3 separate regions of the Homo sapiens genome follow, and all the other regions are linked to region 2. Evidence: promoter capture Hi-C in 16 types of primary human blood cells and fetal thymus (Javierre and others, 2016). All regions are on one chromosome and are shown on one strand. Each heading gives the region's core, a stretch centred on a gene start or on the middle of the fragment in contact. The rest is flanking DNA. Distances are from core to core; before and after follow the strand shown.

Region 1 (3,711 bases), core at 1,008-3,507, 300 kb after region 2:
AGTGCACTGCCATCCACAGACAAAGTCTGCACGTGTGGGGTCAAAGAGAGACCCTCGCGGAGACCCAGAGTGCCGGGAGAGCAGAAGGCAGGGGAGTCCACACAGGGCAAGCAGCAACCAGGCTTCTGAGGACAGGAAAGGAGGGAGCATCTGGTGGGAAGCTGGCGAGGAGGGGCTGGGAGCTGGTAAAGGGGTAACGGAAGGTCGCCTAGCTCCCTACCCCAATGGCAGCCGACCCCCACCCCAGCCTGCCGCGCTGCACCCTCTCCTGCACAGGCCTGAACCTGCTGCGGAACCGTCTGTGGGGTCCCAAGTCCACCACAGACCAGGGGCTTCAGCCTGCTGCCTTCCCAGACGCAGGGACCCTGGACGCCTCCACAAGCACCCTGAATCCTTATCTGCTGTGGGCGAAGAGGAAAGGCCAGGAATAAGGGCGCATGTGGGGCACCCCAGCTCTTCCCAGACGGACAGCGCCGGCTGTCCAGACCCCCGTGGGGGGGATCCAGTGACACCCACCCCGACGGCCCCACATCGCCGCCTTCCTGCCTTCCCAGGTCTTCACCCTTCACCAGCGTCCTCTCCGAGCCCTGACTGACAGGAGTTGAGGGCCCGTTTCTGCAAGGAAGAACTTTCATGCGGTGGCTCCCGCCTGTAATCCCAGCACTTTGGGAGGCTGAGGCGGGCGGATCATCTGAGGTCAGGAGCTCGATGAGACCAGCCTGACCAACATGGTGAAACCCCGTCTCTACTAAAAATACAAAAATTAGCCGGGTGTGGTGGCGGGTGCCTGTAGTCCTAGCTACTCAGGAAGCTGAGGCAGGAGAATCGCTTGAACCTGGGAGGCGGTGAGCTGAGATCGCGCCGCTGCACTCCAGCCTGGGAGACAGAGCGAGACTCCGCAAAAGGAAGGAAGGGAGGGAGGGAGGGAGGGAGGGAGGGAGGGAGGAAAGAAAGAAAGAAAGAAAGAAAGAAAGAAAGAAAGAAAGAAAGAAAGAAAGGAAGGAAGGAAGGAAGGAAGGAAGGAAGGAAGAAAGAAAAAAGAACTTTCATGGCCACCACGCCTGGGTCCACCCGGTGTGCTCCGAGAAAGAAAGAAAGAAAGAAAGAAAGAAAAGAAAGAAAGAAAGAAAGAAAGAAAGAAAGAAAGAAAGAAGGAAGGAAGGAAGGAAGGAAGGAAGGAAGGAAGGAAGGAAAGAAAGAAAGAAAGAAAGAAAGGAAGGAAGAAAGAAAAAAGAACTTTCATGGCCGCCAAGCCTGGGTCCACCCGGTGTGCTCCGAGAAAGAAAAAAGAAAGAAAGAAAGAAAAGAAAGAAAGAAAGAAAGAAAGAAAGAAAGAAAGAAAGAAAGAAAGAAAGAAAGAAAGAAAAAAAGAAAAAAAGAACTTTCATGGCCGCCAAGCCTGGGTCCACCCGGTGTGCTCCGAGCCCGCCGTTCCGTTTCCCGCAACCTGCGGAGCTGCTCCGCGGCAGCGGCGCCTCCATGCAGCCCTCACCGGGAGTGCGAGCGGGACACGGTTCCCTGACCTGGGTCGCCTCCTACCCACACGCATTTCTGGCGCCTGGAGGAAACTCTTCCCGAGTCCCCGAGAGCCGGCTGAGAGCCCCACCGGGGTTGGGGCCTTCGAGCCTGGCACCCAGATCGGGCCTTAGAGGCTGGACCCTGCCCACCTCCCACTGGGACCCCGAGCCTTGTGGCCCCGCTTGCTCAGAAACCGAGGAAATCGCGGGGCTCCCGCCAGTGCACCCCGTCCCAGTCCAGCGACCCGAGCCGGCCGTCCCTATGGAAGCCGGTTCCCTGCACCGAGCCCCGGGTGCGGCCACGCAACGAGGGGGCCCACGGGGTTCCACCGCCGCGTGTCCATCGGTGAGCGGGGCCGGGATCACCGACTCAGCCACCAGACACGGAGCCCGTCTTTAGGCCAGCCTTCGGCGGGGGCCGGGGCAGGGAGGCAGAGGGCTCGGGACTCGCACAAACTTGGAGAAGTCTCTGCGCCCGACTCCCCGGGGCCCACGAAGCCCTCGGCCCGCCCGTCTAGCTGCACTGGTCCGGGCTCCGCGCTGGCCGCCCCGTGTCGTGCGTCCTTGTCGCCAAGCCCCGCGAGCAGGGCCTGCCAGGGTCACGTGGCTCTACGGCCGGAGCCCCAGCGCTGACCCTGCGGGGAAGAAGGGGCGGGCGCGGGGAGGGAAGGGGCGGCGCGGCGGGGGCGGGCCGGGGCGGCGCGGAGGGGGCTGCGGAGCCTCAGCGGCCCGGGCTTCCAGTCTTCGGCCCGCCGGTCGCCGACCCACCGCCACCGCCGTGCCCTGCCGCCCTCCCTGCCCGCTGGTGAGTGCTCCAGCCCGGGCTGCAGCCGCGCGCCCCTCCCCACCCGGCCCCTCCCAGCGCGGCGGGGCCCCGCTCTCCAGGCCCTGCGTCCTGCGGCCGCGCCAGGCCCGTCCTTCCCAGGCCCCCACCGAGCTCACCCCGGGGACCTCCGAAGCCCGGTCGGGGAGGAGGTGGGCTCGGCGTTGTGACTGCCCCGGGGATGACGCGCTGGCCTCTCCCATCCCCGCGGTTCCTCTCCCTCGGGTTCGGGGACCCGCCCCGCGAACGTCCCGGGCTGGGGACTGGGAAGCGCTGCCCGAAGCGGCGGCACCTGCCCGGCATAAGCTCGGGCGCTGGCGGAGGGCGCAGAGCTCCCGTGACCTCCACACCTGTCCCTCTTCCCTGCAGGTCAAGACCACGCCTGGGAGGATGTACCAGAGCCTGGCGCTGGCCGCGAGCCCCCGCCAGGCCGCCTACGCCGACTCGGGCTCCTTCCTGCACGCTCCGGGCGCCGGCTCTCCGATGTTTGTGCCGCCGGCGCGCGTCCCCTCGATGCTGTCCTACCTGTCCGGGTGTGAGCCGAGCCCGCAGCCCCCCGAGCTCGCTGCGCGCCCCGGCTGGGCGCAGACAGCCACCGCGGATTCGTCGGCCTTCGGCCCGGGCAGTCCGCACCCCCCAGCCGCGCACCCGCCCGGGGCCACCGCCTTCCCTTTCGCGCACAGCCCCTCGGGGCCCGGCAGCGGCGGCAGCGCGGGGGGCCGAGACGGCAGTGCCTACCAGGGCGCGCTGTTGCCTCGAGAACAGTTCGCGGCCCCGCTTGGGCGGCCGGTGGGGACCTCGTACTCCGCCACCTACCCGGCCTACGTGAGCCCCGACGTGGCCCAGTCCTGGACTGCCGGGCCCTTCGATGGCAGCGTCCTGCACGGCCTCCCAGGCCGCAGGCCCACCTTCGGTGAGTGCGGGGGCTCCACAGTCTCGGGGCCCAGGAGCGGCCGAATCCGGGTGCAAACCCGCACCCTGCGAAACGCTCCCCTCATCCTCCCCCACGGTCCGAGCCTCCCTGCCAGGAGCGACACCAGCAGCCCCGGGGCGAGACGAGTAAACCTGGGTAACACCCCGCACGGGAAACACCCATCCAGAATTCTGTTTTAACCTGTTAATGAGAAGGAACATCTATTTCCAAACAGCATTCCGGATTGTGCCAATGTGGAGCCTCAAAAGTCTTAATCGTTTTTGTTTTTGTTTTTGAAAAGTTTTGGAAACGATTTTTATAAAGCCCAAAACATCGGTTTATTTAAGTGGCCACATTCGTCTCGGTTCTAGGACGTTTACTGATTTTAATTTGAGACCTGGTTTCAGTCGCTTCCCGAGTATCAGTTTGGAGAATCGGATTCTCGGCCTGTGAGGGGA
Region 2 (3,854 bases), core at 1,270-3,769:
TGTGGGCGGGGCCCCGGGGCCAACAGCTCCTGCTTTCTGAAGGGAAGGTGGGGGCTGTGGGGGCTGCAGGGGGTGGGTGTCACTCAGAGGGCAGCATGGCAGGGAGGGGACCTGTGGCAAGTTTTTGGATCAGAGGGGCAGCGACACAGGGCTAGAACCCTGAGGGTGAGCTGGGAATGGGCAGAGGAGGGCTCAGGGCCTCAGCTCTGCCTCCTGTCGCAGCTGCCCTGGCCAGGTGGCCCGGTGGGACGAGGCCTCCTGGTGGCAGACGCTGCCTCTCATGACTCTTGATGTGCCGAGAAGGTGTGGCCAGGGGCTGTCCTGGCTGGGGCTGGGATGCGGGACGGGGGCCAGGATCCCAGGGTGGAAAAGGGTGGATCTTAAAGTTCATGCCACATCCCCCAACCCAAGGCGGATTCTCTTTCTTGCTGCACCAGTCAGGGCCTGGGGAATGAACTGGCCACTCAGGGTCACGGGCCCACCATCCTCAGCTCCTCTCCCCATCTGTAAATGGAGACAGGGAGGAGTCATTGCCTGGGGCCACCGGAAGCCAGCAAGGCCGGGCCCCAGAGCCACTGCCCAAATGCAGGCTTCCAGGCCTTCTCCCAGACACTGCGGTGTGGGCGTCCGAGACCCAGAGAGGCAGCCTCATGCGCTGGGGCGGGGAGCCAGACGGAGGGTACCCAAGGCCTCCCGCACCAGCCTCATTGATGTGCTGTTCCCCACTGGGCTTGGTACACACAGTAGGTGCTCATTAAATGTGTGTTGAGTGAAACAGACAAATGCAAAGTGGCAGAGTGGGGGCTGCGAGGACAGGTACAGGAGCCCAGGGGCTGTAATCAGGGCCAGGCTGTGTGGTGCAAGGGCCCCGGAGAAGGAGTCATCAGCCTTGGGTCACCTCCTGCAGGCCAGGGTTCACGATGTGAGACAAGAGGCAGGATCACACCAGCCAACAGAGGACCACCCCATCAGACAGGCTGGGGACCACACCATCGAATAGGCCAGGGAACCACACCATCAGATAGATAGGCTGGGGACCACACCAACCACACCATCAGATAGGCTGAGGACCATGCCATCAGACAGGCTGGGGACCATGCCATCAGACAAGCCGGGGACCATGCCATCAGACAAGCCGGGGACGACGCCATCAGACAGGCTGGGGACCAAACCATCAGATAGATAGGTCGGGGACCACACCTTCAGATAGGCTGGGGACCACACCATCAAATAGACCAGGGACCAAGCCATCAGACAGGCCGGGGACCACGCCATCAGACAGGCTGGGGACCACACCTTCAGACAGGCTGGGGACCACACCATCAAATAGACCAGGGACCAAGCCATCAGACAGGCCGGGGACCACACCATCAGACAGGCTGGGGACCACACCATCAGACAGACCGGGGACCATGCCATCAGACAGGCCGGGGACCACGCCATCAGACAGGCCGGGGACCACGCCATCAGACAGACTGGGGACCACGCCATCAGACAGGCCGGGGACCATGCCATCAGACAGGCTGGGGACCACGCCATCAGGCAGGCTGGGGACCACGCCATCAGACATGCTGGGGACCACGCCATTAGATAGACTGGCCAGGGACCATGCCATCAGATAGGCTGGGGCAAAGCCATCAGACAGGTGGAGGTCCATGCCATGGGGCATGAGGTGGTGTCTGTCACCTGGTCCGGGAGCACAGTGTTGCCCATCCGTGCCACCTCCCTGAGGCCCTGGCAAGCATCATTCTCTAATGCAGACAGATGGCTGGGGCGCCAGCAGGAGCCAGACTGCCGCGGAGCAGGAACTGGGCAACTAAGGGTGATTTGGGCCGTAGAGAAGTGATTGATGTGGACAAATGGAGTCTGCAATGCAGGCCCCACGCCACCCTGGCTCCCTGTGCGAACCCAGGGCTCTGCTGCCCTGGCGGGGCTGACTCCATGGACGAGGTGGCTCATGTAGGGCTGGCTGGAAGTAATCATGTCACCCCCTGCAATCATGCCCCCAGGAGATTAGAATAGGACCCTGATCCCTCGTTTCTGTCCTATCCCCTCCTTTCCGTCCCATCTCCTCCTTTCTGCCTCATCTCCTCCTTCCTGCCTCATCTCCTCCTTCCTGCCTCATCTCCTTCCTGCCTCATCTCCTCCTTCCTGCCTCATCTCCTCCTTCCTGTCCCATTTCCTCCTTCCAGTCCCATCTCCTCCTTCCAGTCCTATCTCCTTCCTGCTCCCATCTCTTCCTTCCTGTCCCATTTCCTCCTTCCCGTTCCACCTCCCTGTTCCCATCTCCTCCTCCTGTCCCGCCCCCTCCTTCCTGTCCCGCCCCTCCTTCCTGTCCCACCCTCTCCTTCCTGTCCTGCCCCTCCTTCCTGTCCCGCCCCCTCCTTCCTGTCCCGCCCCTCCTTCCTGTCCCACCCCCTCCTTTCTGTACCTGTTGACCTCATCTGGGCTGCAGTTGGTGACTGCTCGAAGGGGTGGGAGGAACAGTATAAAGTCCTGTCCCCTTCCTGCCTTCAAGGGCACCCCTGAAGGACCATATCCACTGTGGACCCCCTTGGGATCAGCCGAGGTCTGTAGAGGTGACATTGCAGCCCAGCACCTCCCTCCTCCGCCCTGCCCTCCTCTGTCCTCCTTCCACAGGTGTGGCCAAGGGCACTGCCCAGTTGGCCTGTGACCCCCAGCTGAGGCTGCTTCCTGGGCAGCTGACTTCAAGTTTGTGACCTGAGCTCTCCAGGCCCCCGAGCGGCTGGTGCCTTGGCCCTGCAGTTCTGCGGCCAAGACTCCTCCTCTGGGATCTCGTCTTACCCTGCTGCGGGTGCCAGGGCTGCATGAAGCAAGGGCGAAAGTCCCCTTCGCCCGGGCGCTGCCCTCTGCCTGCTGTCCCCTGTGCTCCTGTTCCCCGTGGCTGCCCAGGGACAGGTGTGTGGGATGGAGGACGCGGGAGAGGCTGAGTCCTCCCCAGTGGACCCCCAGATGCAGACCCTGAGGCAAGGGAGAGTGAGAAAGTGAAGGAAAGAACACAGCTGGAAATGCAACCAAGAAGGAACCCCAGCCCGGACCACTGTGAGCAAGGAGAGCCGAGCCCCGGGGAGCCCTGAGACAGTGTGGGAGTGGAGGCCTGGGGCGCCTCCAGGCAAGGCAGCGGGATGTCTATGCCCCAAGCCCTGCCAGTCGTGGATGGAGACGCACACTTTAGTGCGGGCTCCAGAGACAGAGGGAGCCCCAGGCCGAGAGCTGTGGGTGCTGGGCAGGTGGGCATTGGCCAGCATTGCCCCCACTCATGGCGGGTCCACCTTAATTCGACGGGTGTGACACTCTCCTCACACATGTGCACATTCAAGAGGCAACTGTCTGTTTCTATAACTGGGTGCATTTCGGTCTGGAGCCGTCGAGCCGGGTGGTGGCCATGAATCCCAGGCAACTTGGGGGGCCCAATCCAGGGTTGCCTTTTGGGGGCCTTGGGGCGGCTAGTGCAGTTCCACATGCTGTTAAGGACCTTGAGATGGGAGATTATTCTGGATGGTCAGGGTGGGCACAGTTTAATCACAGCCCCTCTAAGAGGGACTGGGAGGGTCAGGGTCAGAGGAGGAGAGGGGACGACGGAAGGGAGAGAGAGGCTGGGAGATGCCGTGCAGCCAAGGAGGGCAGGAACCTCTAGAAACCACAAAAGGCGAGGACACAATCTCTCCCCTGAGGCAGAGACCCAGGGCTGCCCCGCACAGTCGCGCAGATCGTGTACTGCCCTGCTCCTGGGGCTCATTCACACAGGTTGCCATGGCTGTGGGGTCCCTGGGGCTGGGCTATCTGCCAACCTGGGGGACGCTGCACCCTGTTTTCTGTCCTGTCTACTCCAG
Region 3 (3,996 bases), core at 360-2,859, 370 kb after region 2:
CCCCAGGACCCGGCGCTGCAGCCAGCACGGACAGCTGCCTCCTGCCTCCTGCGTCCTGCCCTCCACCCTCACTCGCCCCTTTCTGTTCTCATCTGACACCAGATTCTCTGCAAGCTGCTGGTGTATGGCCCACCCTCCCCTGTCAGGCCCCTCCTCCTGGTGATAGCCAGCAGGGATGGAGGGCCCACTGTGTGCCTGCCCCAGCCTCAGCACCCTACAGCGCTGGACACACTCACTCCCCGCTCACGGGAGCCCCCAGGCACACAAGTCAGCACCCCATTCTGTGGATCCAGAATCCGCAGCCACCCCTCTGCTATGCCACCCAGCCCCGCGTTCTCCTAGACAGGACAGCTGCCCACCTTCCCCTAGGCCTGGCAGAGGCCTTGGAGGCCAACTTGGAAGGGCGGAGGGAAAGGAAATGGAGGTGCTGCATGCTGCGTGAGCCCCAATGGTGGCCCGTGAAGGCCCACAGGAGGGAGCAGGCAGGCGGGAGGTGGGTAGGGGCCTGAAGGGCAGGGGCCCATGCTAGGGGTGGTGATGAAGACCCTGTCTTGCCCACTCGCCCACTGCCTTGTTGGCCATCATGCTGCCTCCCCACACACCAGGTGCTCCTAGGGCCAGCGCTGTGCCTGTCGGTCCCACCGGGTCCCCAGCACCCAGCACAGGAGAGGCTGGGCGCATGCGGGCAGGTGCGAGGTACTGCAGCGCATTCGCGGACTGACCACTGCATGTGCCTGGCCTCCGGCCACAGCCCGACCCCCTCACTGAGCCAGTTTCATCCTGACAGTACCCTGAGGCTGAAATCATTGTCCCCTCTTTAAAGATACGTAAACCCATGAAAGAAAGCTGGACAGAGCAGGCAGGTGACACAGAGGTGGGTGCAAGGTCCTGAGTCCCTCCACAAAGATACAGCGGGTTCCCCTCCAGACTGCAGACAGGCTCCCGGGCTCCAGAGGCAGGCCCTGACCATCCCGGTGCCACGGGCTCACAGGTTCTGAAGTCAGGGGCACCCAGGCACAGAGAGGAAACAGGCCTGGGCACAAGGCAGGCTCAAGGTCACTTTGCTACTGCAGGAAGTGCAGGACTCTGCCTGGGGCTTTGATCCCAAGCAGGTGCCTTCTCCACTCAGACCCTCGTTCCCTTCTGTCAATGAAGGAGGCCAGATGGCACGCGGGCCCTTCCGGGAAGCGGTGGGGCTCCTCCAGGGGCCGCCCTGCGCCCGCTGAAGCGCCGCCCAGACACACCTCCGGACAGGGAAGTGTGCTGGGGCCTCACCCACGCCGCCCTGGGTCCGGAGCCTTAAAATGTGCGCTCGATGGAGGCCATCCGCGAAGGCCGCCATACAGCAAAGGGAACAGAAAGCGAGAGCCCCGCGGCCGCAGGTCCCAAGACGGGGACTCGAACCGGCGGGGAGGCGCGCAGCTCCCGACTCCCTGCTGCTGCGTCCGACCGCCTCTAGGACCCAGGGGAGCGCCCTGAGCGCGGCACCTCGCTGGCCAATGGGAGAGCGCGACGGCGATACATTTGCATGTGGGCGCGCCGCGGCCAATGGGCGGCGGGCGCGCGGGCGCGCGGGCAGGGGGTGGGGCGCTTCGCGGCGGCGGGCGCAGTCTGAGGATGGCCGCGGCCGCGGCCGGTGGAGCCCCGGGCCCGGCCCCCGGCCCCGCCGGGCCCCCGCCACCCGCCGCGCCGACCTCGGCCGCTCGGGCCCCGCCGCAGGCGCTGCGGAGGCGCGGGGACTCGCGGCGCCGCCAGGCCGCGCTTTTCTTCCTCAACAACATCTCCCTGGACGGGCGGCCCCCGAGCCTGGGCCCGGGCGGAGAGAAGCCCCCGCCGCCGCCCGCCGAGGCCCGCGAACCGCCAGCGCCGCCGCCGCCGGAGCCCCCCACCGGGCTGCCCGCCAGGACCCCCGCGCCCCAGGGCCTGCTCAGCCCCACGCAGGTGCCCACCGGCCTCGGCCTGGATGGGCAGCGCCAGAGGTGAGTGGGGGCCCGGCCAGGTCAGCCCAGGACGCGGGGTACAGGGACGGGGACGGGGGCCGGATCAGCCCAGGACTAGGGGTCAGGATTACTTGGGGCCTCATCAGCCCAGGACAAGGGGGTCAGGTGACCTGGGGCCTTGTCAGCCCTGGACAGAGGCCAGGACAAAGGGGTTGGGTTCACCTGGGGCCTTGTCAGCCCTGGACAGAGGTTCAGGTGACCTGAGCCCCTGTCAACCCAGGACACAGGGGTCAGGGTCAGTCTGGGCCCTCATCAGCCCAGGACACAGGGGTTGGGTTCACCTGGGACCTTGTCAGTCCTGGATACAGAACTGGGGGTTCCTGGGCTGGCTGAGGGTTTCCTCAGGCCCTGTCACCCCCCACACATAGGGTTCATTGTCCCCTGAATTCTCCCAGCCCCTGAATACGGGGTCTGGATCTCCACGTTGTCAGTGCTCTGAAATGGGTTTTAGGGTTCAGCCCTTATTACCCCTGAGACCCCCAGCCCTGTGGGTTCTGGACATGCCCCCACCCCCATCCACTGGTACCAGTGCCCGGGACACAGGGACACATGGACAGCCCTGTGCATCTCTTCGCATTCTTTGAACCGGGCCACACCGTCCATGCCCACCTCCTCAGACCCAGCATGTGGGCCGGGGTCCTCCTGGCACTGTCACTGACACCTGTTCCCAGAGGCCCCTGCACAGCCACATCTCCCATCCCACAGCCACTGGTCTCTGGCACCCCTCCTCTCCCTGTCACTTCCCTGCTGAGCCCCGCCCTTCCCCACATCACTCTCAGCTCGGTATCTTTGGGTCTGTCACACCCTGGGTCTCCACTGCTCCCCCTGCCTTGATTCCATTTCTGGGAACCACCTCAGCCCATCCCAGGGCAACCCCAACCATGAGCCCTGCCTGTCCAGCGTGTGCCCCCTGCCCAGATGGCCCCTGGCTGCCCGACACCCTGTGTCCTTCTCCCAGAGACCACAGGACCTGGGTGACCCTGCCTCCCACAGCCCTCACCTCCAGGAGTGACTGTGGGCTCTGGGCCCAGGACTGGCTGCTTGTTGCGGTTCCTTCTCAAAGGGAGCCACTGTCCACAGGTCCAAGTGCCTGCTGGGCGGCTGTTCCCAGAGGCAGCCCCTGCAGGTGTGCAGCAAAGGGGCCGACACAGAGCTCTTGGGTCAAGGCTGGCACGTGCTCCTTGCTTACCTGGAGGTCATCAGAGTTGCCCCACGCCCCTGGCCTTCGGGCAGGTGGAGGCATTGGGTTCCTCTAAGGTCTTTGGTTGGGGAAGTTTGGGCCCAGAACACAGCACTCTGTCCTCAAAGACTATGACGTCACATGCAGGTTGCGTCACACGCAGGTCGCGGTGCACTCCATCCTTGGAAGTGTTCCTGGCCGTAGCCAGGCTGAGGGTGCCTGCAGACCCAGGCCTGTCCACAAGATGTCCCCCCACGGACATGCCTGGCCGCTGCTCCAGGGAGGGTCAGAGGGATGATTGGGGCAGAGGGATGGATTTGCCCAAATGTGGCAGCCAGGCCCCATGCATTTGGCATGGCCAGCTCCTTCAGGAAGGCGGGAGAGATGGAACAAGGTGGTGACTCTCCAGGGCAGAGCGGCAAGGCCCTAAGGTGTGGACTCCAGGGGAAGCGGGCTCACCCCAACGGGCCGAGCTCCGCAGGTGTGGTGGGCTTTTCCCTAACCCCGGGCCCTGTTGTTTGACATGGAAACAGCTTTCTCCCTCAGTCCTGCATGTTGAGTGTCCAGAACCGGATGGTGACACCAGGCAGACTGGGTGCTGTCATAGGCCCTCCTTCCACAGAGTTCATGCACCCCTGTGTGCACCAGGCCTGGCGTGGAGTGGAGCCCACTTGAGTGGAGGGAGGCAGAGCGTGGCGACGCGCAGGGAAGTGCCTGTGACTGAGAAGGCACCCCCTGCAGGCCCAGAGCCTCCATGGTGACAGTTCTGAGCGCAGCATGCTGCCCACGTGCAGCACATCCCTGCCCTGTGGGATT

Evidence for each region. Contacts are between HindIII fragments. The CHiCAGO score rates a contact against its expected background, and 5 or more counts as called.
Region 1: the fragment with the promoter of GATA5 here is called in contact with the fragment with the promoter of LINC00659 in region 2 in 2 of 17 cell types (M0 macrophages and M1 macrophages); the score reaches 7.8 in M0 macrophages.
Region 3: a contact is called between the fragment with the promoter of CABLES2 here and the fragment with the promoter of LINC00659 in region 2, in 2 of 17 cell types (M1 macrophages and M0 macrophages). The highest score is 7.2, in M1 macrophages.

Annotation. Positions count from the first base shown.
Region 1 is chr20:62,474,541-62,478,251 of GRCh38, reverse strand. It overlaps GATA5 (GATA binding protein 5), which reads left to right and starts at 2,257. Exons shown (of 7, transcript NM_080473.5): 1 at 2,257-2,322; 2 at 2,710-3,253. The coding sequence starts at 2,731. The HindIII fragment of the contact is 37,958 bases long and covers 1-3,711 here.
Region 2 is chr20:62,775,521-62,779,374 of GRCh38, reverse strand. LINC00659 (long intergenic non-protein coding RNA 659) reads left to right here and starts at 2,519. Exons shown (of 3, transcript NR_046225.1): 1 at 2,519-2,569. RefSeq lists a silencer at 3,051-3,212. The HindIII fragment of the contact is 9,640 bases long and covers 1-3,854 here.
Region 3 is chr20:62,404,898-62,408,893 of GRCh38, reverse strand. CABLES2 (Cdk5 and Abl enzyme substrate 2) reads left to right here and starts at 1,609. Exons shown (of 10, transcript NM_031215.3): 1 at 1,609-1,979. The coding sequence starts at 1,618. It overlaps LOC105372709 (a long non-coding RNA gene), which reads left to right and starts at 2,000. Exons shown (of 2, transcript XR_936967.3): 1 at 2,000-3,996. RefSeq lists a silencer at 1,443-1,692. The HindIII fragment of the contact is 20,791 bases long and covers 1-3,996 here.